Regions from separate parts of the Homo sapiens genome. Here all the other regions are linked to region 1. Evidence: promoter capture Hi-C in human tissues and cell types (Jung and others, 2019). All regions are on one chromosome and are shown on one strand. Each heading gives the region's core, a stretch centred on a gene start or on the middle of the fragment in contact. The rest is flanking DNA. Distances are from core to core; before and after follow the strand shown.

Region 1 (3,814 bases), core at 887-3,386:
ACTGCCTACTCCACAGCAGATCACAGCAGACCTTCAAGGAGAAAGCTAAAAAGCCTCTTGAAAATTAACCCCCAGTTCCCCCTTTTCAAGAACTTGAATCTTGTGCTCATTCTGAAAGTTTCCACTGTGGTGGAGGAGCATAATAGGCACTTAAAGAAACTGGGTATTGTATTGGGATGAGGAGTGGAAAGGACTATAGAATTGTTTAACAGAACAACATGATAAAGACTTGGGTTGCATCAAAATCATCTCACAGAGATCAGGGCACGCTGATTCTGCAATCTGGGGAAGGGTGGCATCAAGACAGCCAATTCTGGAGCAGGTGAGAAGAGAATGTGGCCCAGGAGTGTTTCTGGATCCCTGGAATACCACCAGGAGGTAGAATACCATCCTTTCTATCTTGGCCCCAGAGTGTAGGTGACAATACCTTTGGACTGGCAAGTTCCCAGAGGACAAGAAAATGACTTCTTTAGAGCAAGGATTTCTTGACACCTTTTGGGACCCATCATGTTCCATTTTTTTTAAACACTAAAAGAAAGATTGCTTTCCCCGCCAAATAACAGCATGAACATTATCTTAAAAGGCAAAGACATTAATTTCTATGAAGCCAGGCACGAGACACTTTTGGGTGTCACAATAAGAATGACAATACGTTCTGATGTTGAGCACAGAAGGAGGGTGCATCAGTGAAAATTATGACAGACAGCATGACGGTGCTGAGAGGCAAGCTACGGATCCAAGCCCGCGACTGCTCAGCCAGGATCTCTGTTCCCTATGGGAGCAGTGAATCACCTGAACTTTGGGTCAATGGAAGAAGTAAAATGCATAACACCCTAATCCTAAGACACAAGTCCTGACCCCCTAAACCAAGGTTTTCAGCACTTTGCTAAAAACACGAACAAGCTCTAAGCCTGGCAAAGATGGCAATACATACCCAGGTTGTGGAAGACACTGCAGAGGTGGCCACTGGTCACGCTGGGCAGTTGAGCTGCTGAGAGTGCCCTGCCCAGCCAGAAATGGTCTTTAATACTCTTCCCCTCTTTCTTTCAGTTTCCCTTCTGAAAAAAGATGCTTTTGTCTTTCGTTCTCCCCACCCTGCATTCAGCTAAGGGTTTCTTATAAATCACCCAGATTCTCAGAAACACTTGAGCTCTTGACCAACCTTCTTGATGAGACTGTCCAATCAGGGGTGGGTTGCCTGGGGGGCCAGGTTGAGACCAATGAAACCCTCTTGAGAATCGAGCCATTAGCTGGTCATTGCATCAGCCACCCCTCACCCCCCGCTGGCCTCCAAATAACCTCCCCACCCTCTTCCCGTTCCCCACCCTCAGCGTCAGTGTGACTGATTTTGTGTAGTCGTGGGCGGTGGAAAGAGAAACTGTAAATTCCCCGCATCTGTTCACCGAGGCGGCACAGTGCAGTGGAAAGATCAGGAGTTCTGGGGTCACAGACGCCTGGGTTTCAATCCCAGCTTGGACTTATTCGAAACCTTGGGCAAGGGTCGCATTACTTTTCTGCTTCCCCTTCGGTTTCCTCATCTGTGGAATGGGCATGGAGAAGCCTGCTAACATTACCGTTGAGGGGACTAAGTGCAACACTACGCAAAGCCTCTGGCACATGGCAGGCGCTAAATAAAAATGGGGGCCTCTCTCCTCGGGAAAAGCGAACAGGCGGAGACGATGAAGGGTGCCAGTGGGAAAGGGAGACGGGGTGGGTCGGCGGCGCTCAGAGGAAAGGGGCGAGGGGTCGGTGGCAGGCTCCGCGCCTCACAGTGCCAGAACGCGGCGGGCAGCAAGCCGGGCTCTAAGGATACTCCCGGGAGGGCCAGGCCACTGGGCGCCGCGCCAGCGTCCCTCCATCACTCCCTCCCTTGTTTCCTCACTCCGCCCCGGCCTTACTCCCCTCGCTTACCCTGCCCAGCCGGGCCAGTCAGCGCTCCCGGCTCAGCAACCGGCTGTCTCCTGGGCGTCCGTGGAAACGCCGTCCGGACGGAACAACTTCCGGCCCGACGGCGCCGTCATTGGCTGTTCGCGCGGGGGCGGGGCAGAGGCCGCCACTGATTGGCTGGCGGCCGCGGCGTCGCGTCGGAACGTGACTGGATGGTAGTGTGCTGGCCGGTCTGCCTCCGGGAGAACCGAGCGCTTCCGGTGCGTGTGGTGAGCGGCGGGCCCCGGGCTGGAGGGGCCGGGACTGGGCAGCGCCTAAAGCGCCCCGTGCCGCTTAACGCGGTCTCTCATAGCCGCTCGCCTTCCTTTCACTTCCTGTTCCTTCAGAAAGCGCTGTGCCTTGGACCAACCTTACTTCTTACTATTGACAGCTCAGCTAACTCCTATTCATCCTTCAAAACCCATCTCTGGTCGTATCTTGTTTGTTGCTTTCATCGCTCTGGGGCCTCCGGGGGGATCTGTGTTTTGTGTTTGATTTCCACCCACACCAGACCCAGCATAGGGCTTGACAAAGAGTACGTAATCAGGAAATGTTTGTTGAATGGGAATATCCTATTTCTTTTACTTCCTAGCATCTCCCCCTCCCACCCGTTTGCATTCCAGAAATATTTTTAGACGCTGGGCATTGAATAGTGAACAAAACACAGAAAGTCCTGTCCTCATGGGGCTGACTTGCTGATAGTGACTGTCAGAGTCACTCGCTCCTTCCTTAGACTCTTCTCCAGTGTCCCTGCCTTCCCTTCCATCTTACTGTCTGTTCCTCTTCGTTTAATCCCTCATCTCCTTCCAGAGGGAGCACGGGCACCCTGGTGGTGGGAATCTGGGTGCATGGTGGGTGGTGCCTGGGCAGAGGAGTTGAGAGTGGCCTCGGGACCAGGCTTAGCATTTAGAGAACAGAAATGCCAAATTATTTGCAGTGCACGGTTCCATTAGTTTATAATTAGTCTTTCATATTATATTAGTTCCATTGGAGATGAGCTGGCTGGCTGGCTTTAGAAGTTGTTGTTGTTGTTGTTGTTTTTTGAGACCAAGTCTCGCTCTGTAGCCCAGGCTGGAGTGCAGTGGCGTGATCTCCACTCACCGCAACCTCCGCCTCCCGGGTTCAAGCAATTCTGCGGCCTCAGCCTCCAGAGTAGCTGGGATTACAGGCGCGCACCACTGCACACGGCTAAATTTTTTTTTTTTTTGTATTTTTAGTAGAGACGGGGTTTCACCATGTTGGCCAGGCTGGTCTTGAACCCCCGACCTCAGGTAATCCGCCCTTCTCGGCCTCCTACAGTGCTAGGATTACAGGCGTGAGCCACCGCGCCCGGTCGTTTTATTTAAACTCTGGCTTTGCGTGTGGAAGTTGTTACCTGCCTGGAATGGGCTGCGAACGGGGGCGGCATTACTAGAGGAGGCTGACTACAGACATTTATGGAATGATGACCTGACTTGTAGACCAGTGGAACCCTCAGGCGAATGATGCCACTTGGGGGAAAGGTGTGGAAGAGGTTGGGTGGTTGATTCCAGGGGACATAGAAACCCATTGTCTAGAAGAAGAGATGGGTAATAGGCTGTCTGGAATGACTTAGAAAAGGACTTGGAGGGAATCTGTTGATGCTGACCTGACTCCACCTGTTGGGGGATGGAGGCGGAGCTTGGCGTGTTTGATTAAGGTTGGGTGCACTGGGTTTTCTTGGAAGTCGGTCTATTGCCTGAGCGTTCTGTGCTGTTCCACCGCGCCCTCTGCTGTCCTAGGAGTGCCTAGCACCCTTCTTTTTCTCTGGATTGTGCTTGGTGCTAACAGCACAGAAGTAAAAAATTACCAAAGCACTTCTTTCTGGGAACTAATTGATAACCATGTATTGTGTATGATGGTTCAGAAT
Region 2 (4,095 bases), core at 1,155-3,654, 1.4 Mb after region 1:
CTAAGGTTTGTGCAGTAAATATTTTACTTTTGGAGTCAGTTAAGTTTTGAAAAAGGCAGAAAAAGCCCACAACTGTAACAGGTTCGTCCTCTCCGTAGCAAAGCTGATTCAAACAGCAGTCTTTGAACACAGTAGTATCACGCTGGTTGGTATCGTCTCGGTAGCAGAATGAGAACACAAAATCATCTAGGGCAATAGGAGCAGCAATGTGTAGCAGAGAAAATAGCCCAAGTCAAATTTATGTCCAGCCAAGACCACTAATGAAAGCTGAAAACTAGCATCCTTGCTTCCTCTGCCCACCCCATCCCATCCCACCTTCACATACATCCGCCCACACCCATTAGCCAGAGCATTCCTTTGATGGCCTAAGTTAGATGTCGTCTATGCCCCAGGGCCTTTGCACCAGCTGGTCCTCAGGTGCCAGTGCTCTCTCCCAGTGTCTCACGTGGCTGACTCCTTTGTCAGGTCCCAGTTCAAATTTACCTTCTCAGAGCAACCTTCCCTGACCATCGTAGCTAATATAGCCAACACCCTCTAGCAGGCACCCCATAGAGTCTAATCCAGCTTTGTCCATAGAATTTTCTGTGACAATAAGACTCTTCTGTGTCTATGCTGTCAACTCGCCACATGTGGCTATAAGCACTCAAAATACGGCTAGTGTTAATTAAACATGGAATTTTACATTTTATTTCATTTTTTATTATACATAAGTTCTAGGGTATATGTGCACAATGTACAGGTTTGTTACATAGGTATACATGTGCCATGTGGGTTTGCCGCACCCATTAACTCGTCATTTACATTAGGTATTTCTCCTAATGCTATCCCTCCCCCTGCCCTCCACCCCACGACAGGCCCTGGTTTGTGATGTTCCCCACCCTGTGTCCAAGTGTTCTCATTGTTCAATTCCCACCTATGAGTGAGAACATGCAGTGTTTGGTTTTCTGCCCTTGTGATAGTTTGCTCAGAATGATGGTTTCCAGCTTTATCCATGTCCCTGCAAAGGACACGAACTCATCCTTTTTTATGGCTGCATAGTATTCCATGGTGTATATGCGCCATTTTCTTAATCCAGTCTATCACTGATGGACATTTGGGTTGTTCCAAGTTTTCGTTATTGTGAATAGTGCCGCAATAAACATACGTGTGCATGTGTCTTTACAGTAGCATGATTTATAATCCTTTGGGTATATACCCAGTAATAGTATCTCTGGGCCAAATGGTATTTCTAGTTCTAGCTCCTTGAGGAATTGCCACACTGTCTTCCACAATGGTTGAACTAGTTTACACTCCACCAACAGTGTAAAAGCGTTCCTATTTCTCCACATCCTTTCCAGCATCTGTTGTTTCCTGACTTTTTAATGACTGCCATTCTAACTGGTGTGAGATGCTGTCTCACTGTGGTTTTGATTGCATTTGTCTGATGACCAGTGACGATGAACATTTTTTCATGTGTCTGTTGGCTGCATAAATGTCTTCTTTTGAGAAGTGTCTGTTCATATCCTTTGCCCACTTTTTGATGGGGTTGTTTTTTTTCTTGTAAATTTGTTTAAGTTCTTTGTAGATTCTGGATATGAGCCCTTTGTCAAATGGGTAGATTGCAAAAATTTTCTCCCATTCTGTAGGTGGCCTGTTCACTCTGATGGTAGTTTCTTTTGCTGTGCAGAAGCTGTTTAGTTTAATTAGATCCCATTTGTCTATTTTGGTTTTGTTGCCATTGCTTTTGGTGTTTTAGTCATGAAATTGCACATGCCTATGTCCTGAATGGTATTGCCTAGGTTTGCTTCTAGGGTTTTTATGGTTTTAGGTATAACATTTAAGTCTTTAATCCATCTTGAATTAATTTTTGTATAATGTGTAAGGAAGGGATCCAGTTTCAGCTTTTTACATATGGCTAGCTAGTTTTCCCAGCACCATTTATTAAATAGGGAATCCTTTCCCCATTTCTTGTTTTTGTTGGTTTGTCAAAGATCAGATGGTTGTAGATGTGTGGTGTTATTTCTGAGGCCTCTGTTCTGTTCCATTGGTCTATCTCTCTGTTTTAGTACCAGTACCATGCTGTTTTGGTTACTGTAGCCTTGTAGTATAGCTTGAAGTCAGGTAGCGTGATGCCTCCAGATTTGTTCTTTTGGCTTAGGATTGTCTTGGCAATGCAGGCTCTTTTTTGGTTCCATATGAACTTTAAAGTAGTTTTTTCCAATTCTGTGAAGAAAGTCATTGGTAGCTTGATGGGGATGGCATTGAATCTATAAATTACTTTGGGCAGTATGGCCATTTTCACGATATTGATTCTTCCAACCCATGAGCATGGAATGTTGTTCCATTTGTTTGTATTCTCTTTATTTCCTTGAGCAGTGGTTTGTAGTTCTCCTTGAAGAGGTCCTTCACATCCTTTGTAAGTTGGATTCCTAGGTATTTTATTCTCTTTGTAGCAGTTGTGAATGGGAGTTCACTCATGATTTGGCTCTCTGTTTGTGTGTTAATGGTGTATAGGAATGCTTGTGATTTTTGCACACTGATTTTGTATCCTGAGACTTTGCTGAAGTTGCTTATCAGCTTAAGGAGATTTTGGGCTGAGAACAGTGGGGTTTTCTAAATATACAATCATGTCATCTGCAAACAGGGACAATTTGACTTCCTCTTTTCCTAATTGAATACCCTTTATTTCTTTCTCTTGCCTGACTGTCCTGGCCAGAACTTCCAACACTGTGTTGAATAGGAGTGGTGAGAGAGGGCATCCCTGTCTTGTGCCACTTTTCAAAGGGAATGCTTCCAGTTTTTGCCCGTTCAGTATGATATTGGCCGTGGGTTTGTCATAAATAGCTCTTATTATTTTGAGATACATTCCATCAATACCTAATTTATTGAGAGTTTTTAGGATGAATGGTTGTTGGATTTTGTCAAAGGCCTTTTCTGCATCTATTGAGATAATCATGTGGTTTTTGTCATTGGTTCTGTTTATGTGATGGATTGCATATATTGATTTGCATATGTTGAACCAGCCTTGCATCCCAGGGATGAAGCTGACTTGATCGTGGTAGATAAGCTTCTTGATGTGCTGCTGGATTCAGTTTGCCAGTATTTTATTGAGAATTTTCACATCGATGTTCATCAGGGATATTGGTCTAAAATTGCCTTTTTTGTTGTGTCTCTGCCAGGCTTTGGTATCAGGATGATGTTGGCCTCATAAAATGATTTAGGGAGGATTCCCTCTTTTTCTATTGATTGGAATCGTTTCAGAAGGAATGGTACCAGCTCCTCTTTGTACCTCTGGTAGAATTCAGCTGTGAATCTATCTGGTCCTGGACTTTTTTTGGTTGGTAGGCTATTAATTATTGCCTCAATTTCAGAGCCTGTTATTGGTCTATTCAGAGATTCAACTTCTTCCTGGTTTGGTCTTGGGAGGGTGTATGTGTCCAGGAATTTATCCATTTCTTCTAGATTTTCTAGTTTATTCTCTGATGGTAGTTTGTATTTCTGTGGGATCTGTGGTGATATCCCCTTTATCATTTTGTATTGCATCTATTTGATTCTTCTCTCTTTTCTTCTTTATTAGTCTTGCTAGTGGTCTATCAATTTTGTTGATCTTTTCAAAAAACCAGCTCCTGGATTCATTGATTTTTTGAAGGTTTTTTTGTGTCTCTATCTACTTCAGTTCTGCTCTGATCTTAGTTATTTCTTGCCTTCTGCTAGCTTTTGAAGTTTGCTCTTGCTTCTCTAGTTCTTTTAATTGAGATGTTAGGGTGTTGATTTTAGATCTTTCCTCTTTCTCTTGTGGGAATTTAGTGTTAAAAATTTCCCTCTACACACTGCTTTAAATGTGTCCCAGAGATTCTGGTACATTGTGTCTTTGTTCTCATTGGTTTCAAAGAACATCTTTATTTCTGCCTTCATTTCATTATTTACCCAGTAGTCATTCAGGAGCAGGTTGTTCAGTTTCCATGTAGTTGTGTGGTTTTGAGTGAATTTCTTAATCCTGAGTTCTAATTTGATTGCACTGTAGTCTAAGAAACAGTTTGTTGTGATTTCTATTCTTTTACATTTGCTGAGGAGTGCTTTACTTCCAACTATGTGGTCAGTTTTGGAATAACTGTG
Region 3 (4,299 bases), core at 765-3,264, 1.6 Mb after region 1:
CGGGTTCTTTCAGTTCCCATCCACTTAGAAATAACAAACATGTTTCATTTTGAGCCTATCCTACAGGGCCGCAAATCCGGAGCCTGCAGTTTGTTCTCTTGGCCTGGGGCCAGGTTGCAGATGTTTGAGTCCCTTGGATCCCTGAGTGGCTGCGTCTCCCAGTCTGGTGCTGACTCATGGTGCAGCCAGCATGCAGCCTGCCCATCGGCCAGGTCCCTGCAGGTTTCTGAGTCTCAGATGGTGGATGGCCTATTCAGAGTTCACAGATCTGCACCTAATAGACTTTCCTCTTTGTCCCTCTTTCTACCCCTAAAGTACATGTGAGGGGAAACCCTCTGCATGGTGCCTAGCACGCAGTGAACACTCAGCGTTCGCTGTCAGTGGTGTGTTATTATTATTCATTACCATTAGGATCCTTGCACAAACTCATCGCAGTTGCCTATTTATTTTTTCCAGGAAGATTACTCGGAACTGCTTAGGCACATCACACCAGGGCGGACTGATGGAGAGCAGGAAGATGGGGTATTCATCTGTCCCCTCTTCCACATGCTCCTTAAAGACAAGAATCATCTGATTAGTCTCCGTGTTCCAGCAACCCCCTGGGACCCAGCAACCGGTAATTAGGCAAGGAATAAGCTTATTGTATGTTTCACAGTTTTTCAAAGATGATTTGGGAGAATCAAATCATACCATCATCATTCCACCAATCAGGACTCGGCACTCTGACAGTGCACTTTGATGTTTAAAAAAAACAAAAAAACCAAAAAAAAAAAAAACGCCATTGGCTTCCCTCTCTCCACCCAACTTAAGAAAGAAGTTATGAATGTGAACTTTCAAAGGCCAATTACTACCCCTTAGAAGAACCTACCATCTCTAAACTACAAAGATGGGCAGCCTGGATTCTATTATTTTTATTATTTTACAAAATTCTTAATTTTTAAATACACATAGATATAGGGTCTCGCTAGGTTGACCAGGCTGGTCTTGGAACTTCTGGCCTCAAGCAATCCTCCCATCTCAGCCTCTCAAAATGCTAGGATTACAGGTGTGAGCCACCGCACCCAGCTGGGCAGCCTGGATTCTGGCTCTTATGTAGTCATGGTGTAGGGGAGGAGGTCGTGGTGGGTCCGAACTAGGGGGAAACTTGGTGGGCAGGCAACCCAGCCCCTGCCTTGTACGGACCCAGATACTGAGGCCCACAGAATGACAGTGCCAGCTCTAGGGGGCTGGAGGAGAGCCATTGCTGGAGGTAGCTGTTCTCAGTAGGTCTCCCTCTTGGTCCTCACAGCGTCCTCGGGGACAATGATTTTTGTCATTAGGAACCAGATCCCATCACAGCTTGGCTTTACGTACAGTGAAGGTGTCATTCCTGGCTTAACCTTACACTGCCCCGAAGGCCCCCTCCCCAGCTGTCCGTTTCCAGCCTGGCAATGGGACTCTCTGAGCACGCCCCTCATCTCCTCCCCCTCTGAAAAGTATCCTCAATCTCCCGGTCTATATCTAATAACACATCTGTCGTGCCTATATTTTGGTACCTGATACGTAGTCATTCATTCATTCAATGAGAGAACATTTAATGAGAGGTTAAGGGGCTTAGAACAACGCCGGGCACAGGCTAAGCGCTCACTAAACGTTAGCTCTCGCCAATAACATCACTGATTCACTATAAAGTTTCTCTGGCTGTGTGCTATTCGCTGCGTCCACAGCAGTGAAGAAGACAGACGCAGCCCCTGACCAACCTCGCCAAGCCCGGGCGCCGAGCCAGGACGTTGAGCCAAGTCCCCATCTCCTAGGACTCGCAGTGCGGAGGCTGCGGGCCCCGACCAGCGCCGAGACTACAAGTCCCAGAAGGGCGCGCGGCGACATCGCCGGGCCCGCCCCCCGCGCACGCGCGGCGCCGTGACGCTAAGGCCGCGAGCGAGCGCGGGTGGCTGCGGCGGCTGCGGCCGGCGGGGCGGGGCGGGGCCACCTGGCAGTGGCTGCCTTTAGGGCGGAGCCGGCTCCCGCTCTCCTCAGTCTGCGGTGGGCTAGCGGACGGTCCGGCTTCCGGCGGCCGTTTCTGTCTCTTGCTGGCTGTCTCGCTGAGTCGCGGCCGCCTTCTCATCGCTCCTGGAAGGTCCCGAGCGCGACACCATGTCGGAGCCCGGGGGCGGCGGCGGCGAGGACGGCTCGGCCGGATTGGAAGTGTCGGCCGTGCAGAATGTGGCGGACGTGTCGGTGCTGCAGAAGCACCTGCGCAAGCTGGTGCCGCTGCTGCTGGAGGACGGCGGCGAGGCGCCGGCCGCGCTGGAGGCGGCGCTGGAGGAGAAGAGCGCCCTGGAGCAGATGCGCAAGTTCCTTTCGGACCCGCAGGTCCACACGGTGCTGGTGGAGCGCTCCACGCTCAAAGGTGCGGGGCCGCGGAGGGCAGGGTCGCCAGAGCCAGGCCTCGCGGAATGCAGGGCCTGCCAGGTCCTCCGGGGTCGCAGATGTCCCCGGGATGGGAGGAGCCCGGCAGCTGCAGATGACCCCTGGATGGGCAGAGCCCGGCGGCCGCAGACGTCCCGCCGGCCGGGTCCCCAGGGCCGCAGACGCCCCGCAGAGGCCGGCGCGGCGCCCGGGGCTCGCCCTCGCCACACCCACTGCCCGGCCCGGAGCCCCCAGGGCGCCCCGCTCCTGGTCGCGGGGAGGGGAAAGGGGTCCCCGTCTGCCGTCACCCAAAACAATGGGGTCGCTTTGTCTGCTCGGGCCTCTCAAGATGGCCGAGTTGGGTGGAGACAGCGTCTCCCTGGGCTGAGAGCGGGCGAGGCCGCATCCCTGCCTCCAGTGTCACATGAGCTTTTCGGTTTCGATTTGTGTCCAAGCCAAGTGGCCTTCGGGAGGGATGTGTCGGGGGCAGACCCGCGGAGCTGGGGGCAGCCGGGGTTCTGGTTCGGGAGGAGGTCGGGCGGGTGTCCCAGCCCTGCCTTGTGGGGACCCAGAGGCCGAGGCCCACAGAGCGACGGTGCCAGCCCCGGGCCTGCGAGCATCACTGTTGTAGGTGGATGCTCTCACAGCATCCTTGCTGAACGGGTGTATCCTGATTTTACACCTGAGGAAACTGAGGCTCAGGTTAAGTGATTTCACCCAAGGTCACCAGCTAATCTTAGTCCTGAGACTAGACTCAGTGTCTCAGCTCCCCATCCACTGCTTGTTTTCACTGATCATACCTCATATTTGTTTAATGCTTCGATGATGTTAATGATAACCCTGTAATATTTGAGTCTAATTTTACAGATTAAAAAAAAAAAAAAAGATTCAGGTTAGGCACCTAGTAGGGGGAAGAGGCTAGAGTTAGCGTGTTCCAGCTGTCTCCTCAAATAATGATCGCCCACCAGCAAGGTTACATTCATCTAAGTCTGGGGCTTGCCTGCAGGCAGGCTTTCTCATGGATTCATTACAACCACTTTGTAGCCCATTACAACCACTTTGGGTGTGGCGTGTCCATCTAAGAACCTAAGGATGATGTCCAAGGTTAGCCTCTAGGGATTGGAGATTGTCTAAAAATATTTGCCAACAAGCTTCTTAAAATTTCAAAAAACTGTATGGTTCTCTCAGTGAGAGACCCTGTACTGTCTGCCCCATCCTTAACACACACTGTGTTTCTGATGGTTTGTTTCTTTCAAAGGCTATTCTTACTCAGAAGATGCTTCCCTGTAGCCTTGGTTTCCTGCCAGAGATTAGCAGGGTGTAAAAGAATATTTTTTTCTTATATCCACGTGGAATGTTCAAGGCAAATAAACCATTTGAGCATATTTAGAGTATTAATGTTTTTGAGGGTTGTTTACTGTGATGTTTGGGATTATGTATTCCTAAGTGGAAGCCACAAAAGTTAAAAAAAAAAAATTTATCTACTCTTTTTTTTTTCCAAAAAACATATAGTCATTGTAGAAAATGTACTATACAGCTAAAGTAAAAATCACTGGGAATTGTTTGACCCAGATATAATCACTGTCAGCATTTTTGGTTTATGTCTTTGTGGTCATTTTTCAATGCATATTCGTCATTTTATTAAAATACATTTTAATCTGCATTTTTAAAGTTAATTGTATTTTGAGTAGCTTGACCATTGCTAATCCTTGATATTTTTATTGCATAGTTTATGTATTAGAATCAGTGATTTTATTTTTTTTACCTTGTGTCACTCTTTTTATGAAAAAAAATTTAAGTTTTATACTTTGCTTCTAGAGTGATCACCAGTAATTCGCTTTTTCCAGGCATCTTAAAATTGGACGTTGCTAAAATTATTGGGGTGGGGGGACTATGTTTATGTAGTACAAT

The links. The method cuts DNA at HindIII sites, captures the fragments that hold promoters and counts their contacts. A contact is called where the count stands out against the background at its distance.
Region 2: a contact is called between a fragment that was not itself captured here and the fragment with the promoter of WDR25 in region 1, in 1 of the 25 tissues and cell types used here (dorsolateral prefrontal cortex).
Region 3: the fragment with the promoter of DYNC1H1 here is called in contact with the fragment with the promoter of WDR25 in region 1 in 1 of the 25 tissues and cell types used here (mesenchymal stem cells).

Annotation. Positions count from the first base shown.
Region 1 is chr14:100,374,349-100,378,162 of GRCh38, forward strand. It overlaps WDR25 (WD repeat domain 25), which reads left to right and starts at 2,137. Exons shown (of 7, transcript NM_001161476.3): 1 at 2,137-2,147. WARS1 (tryptophanyl-tRNA synthetase 1) reads right to left here and starts at 999. Exons shown (of 11, transcript NM_004184.4): 1 at 935-999. RefSeq lists enhancers at 951-1,090, 1,101-1,460 and silencers at 1,971-2,030, 2,221-2,270. The HindIII fragment of the contact is 17,907 bases long and covers 1-3,814 here.
Region 2 is chr14:101,743,550-101,747,644 of GRCh38, forward strand. No RefSeq gene overlaps it. Among named protein-coding and RNA genes, the nearest start is that of LINC02320, 14 kb to the left of the region's middle. The HindIII fragment of the contact is 7,602 bases long and covers 1-4,095 here.
Region 3 is chr14:101,962,559-101,966,857 of GRCh38, forward strand. DYNC1H1 (dynein cytoplasmic 1 heavy chain 1) reads left to right here and starts at 2,015. Exons shown (of 78, transcript NM_001376.5): 1 at 2,015-2,389. The coding sequence starts at 2,134. RefSeq lists enhancers at 1,568-1,707, 1,752-2,362, 2,363-2,972 and silencers at 1,848-2,007, 2,498-2,707. The HindIII fragment of the contact is 2,222 bases long and covers 1-2,087 here.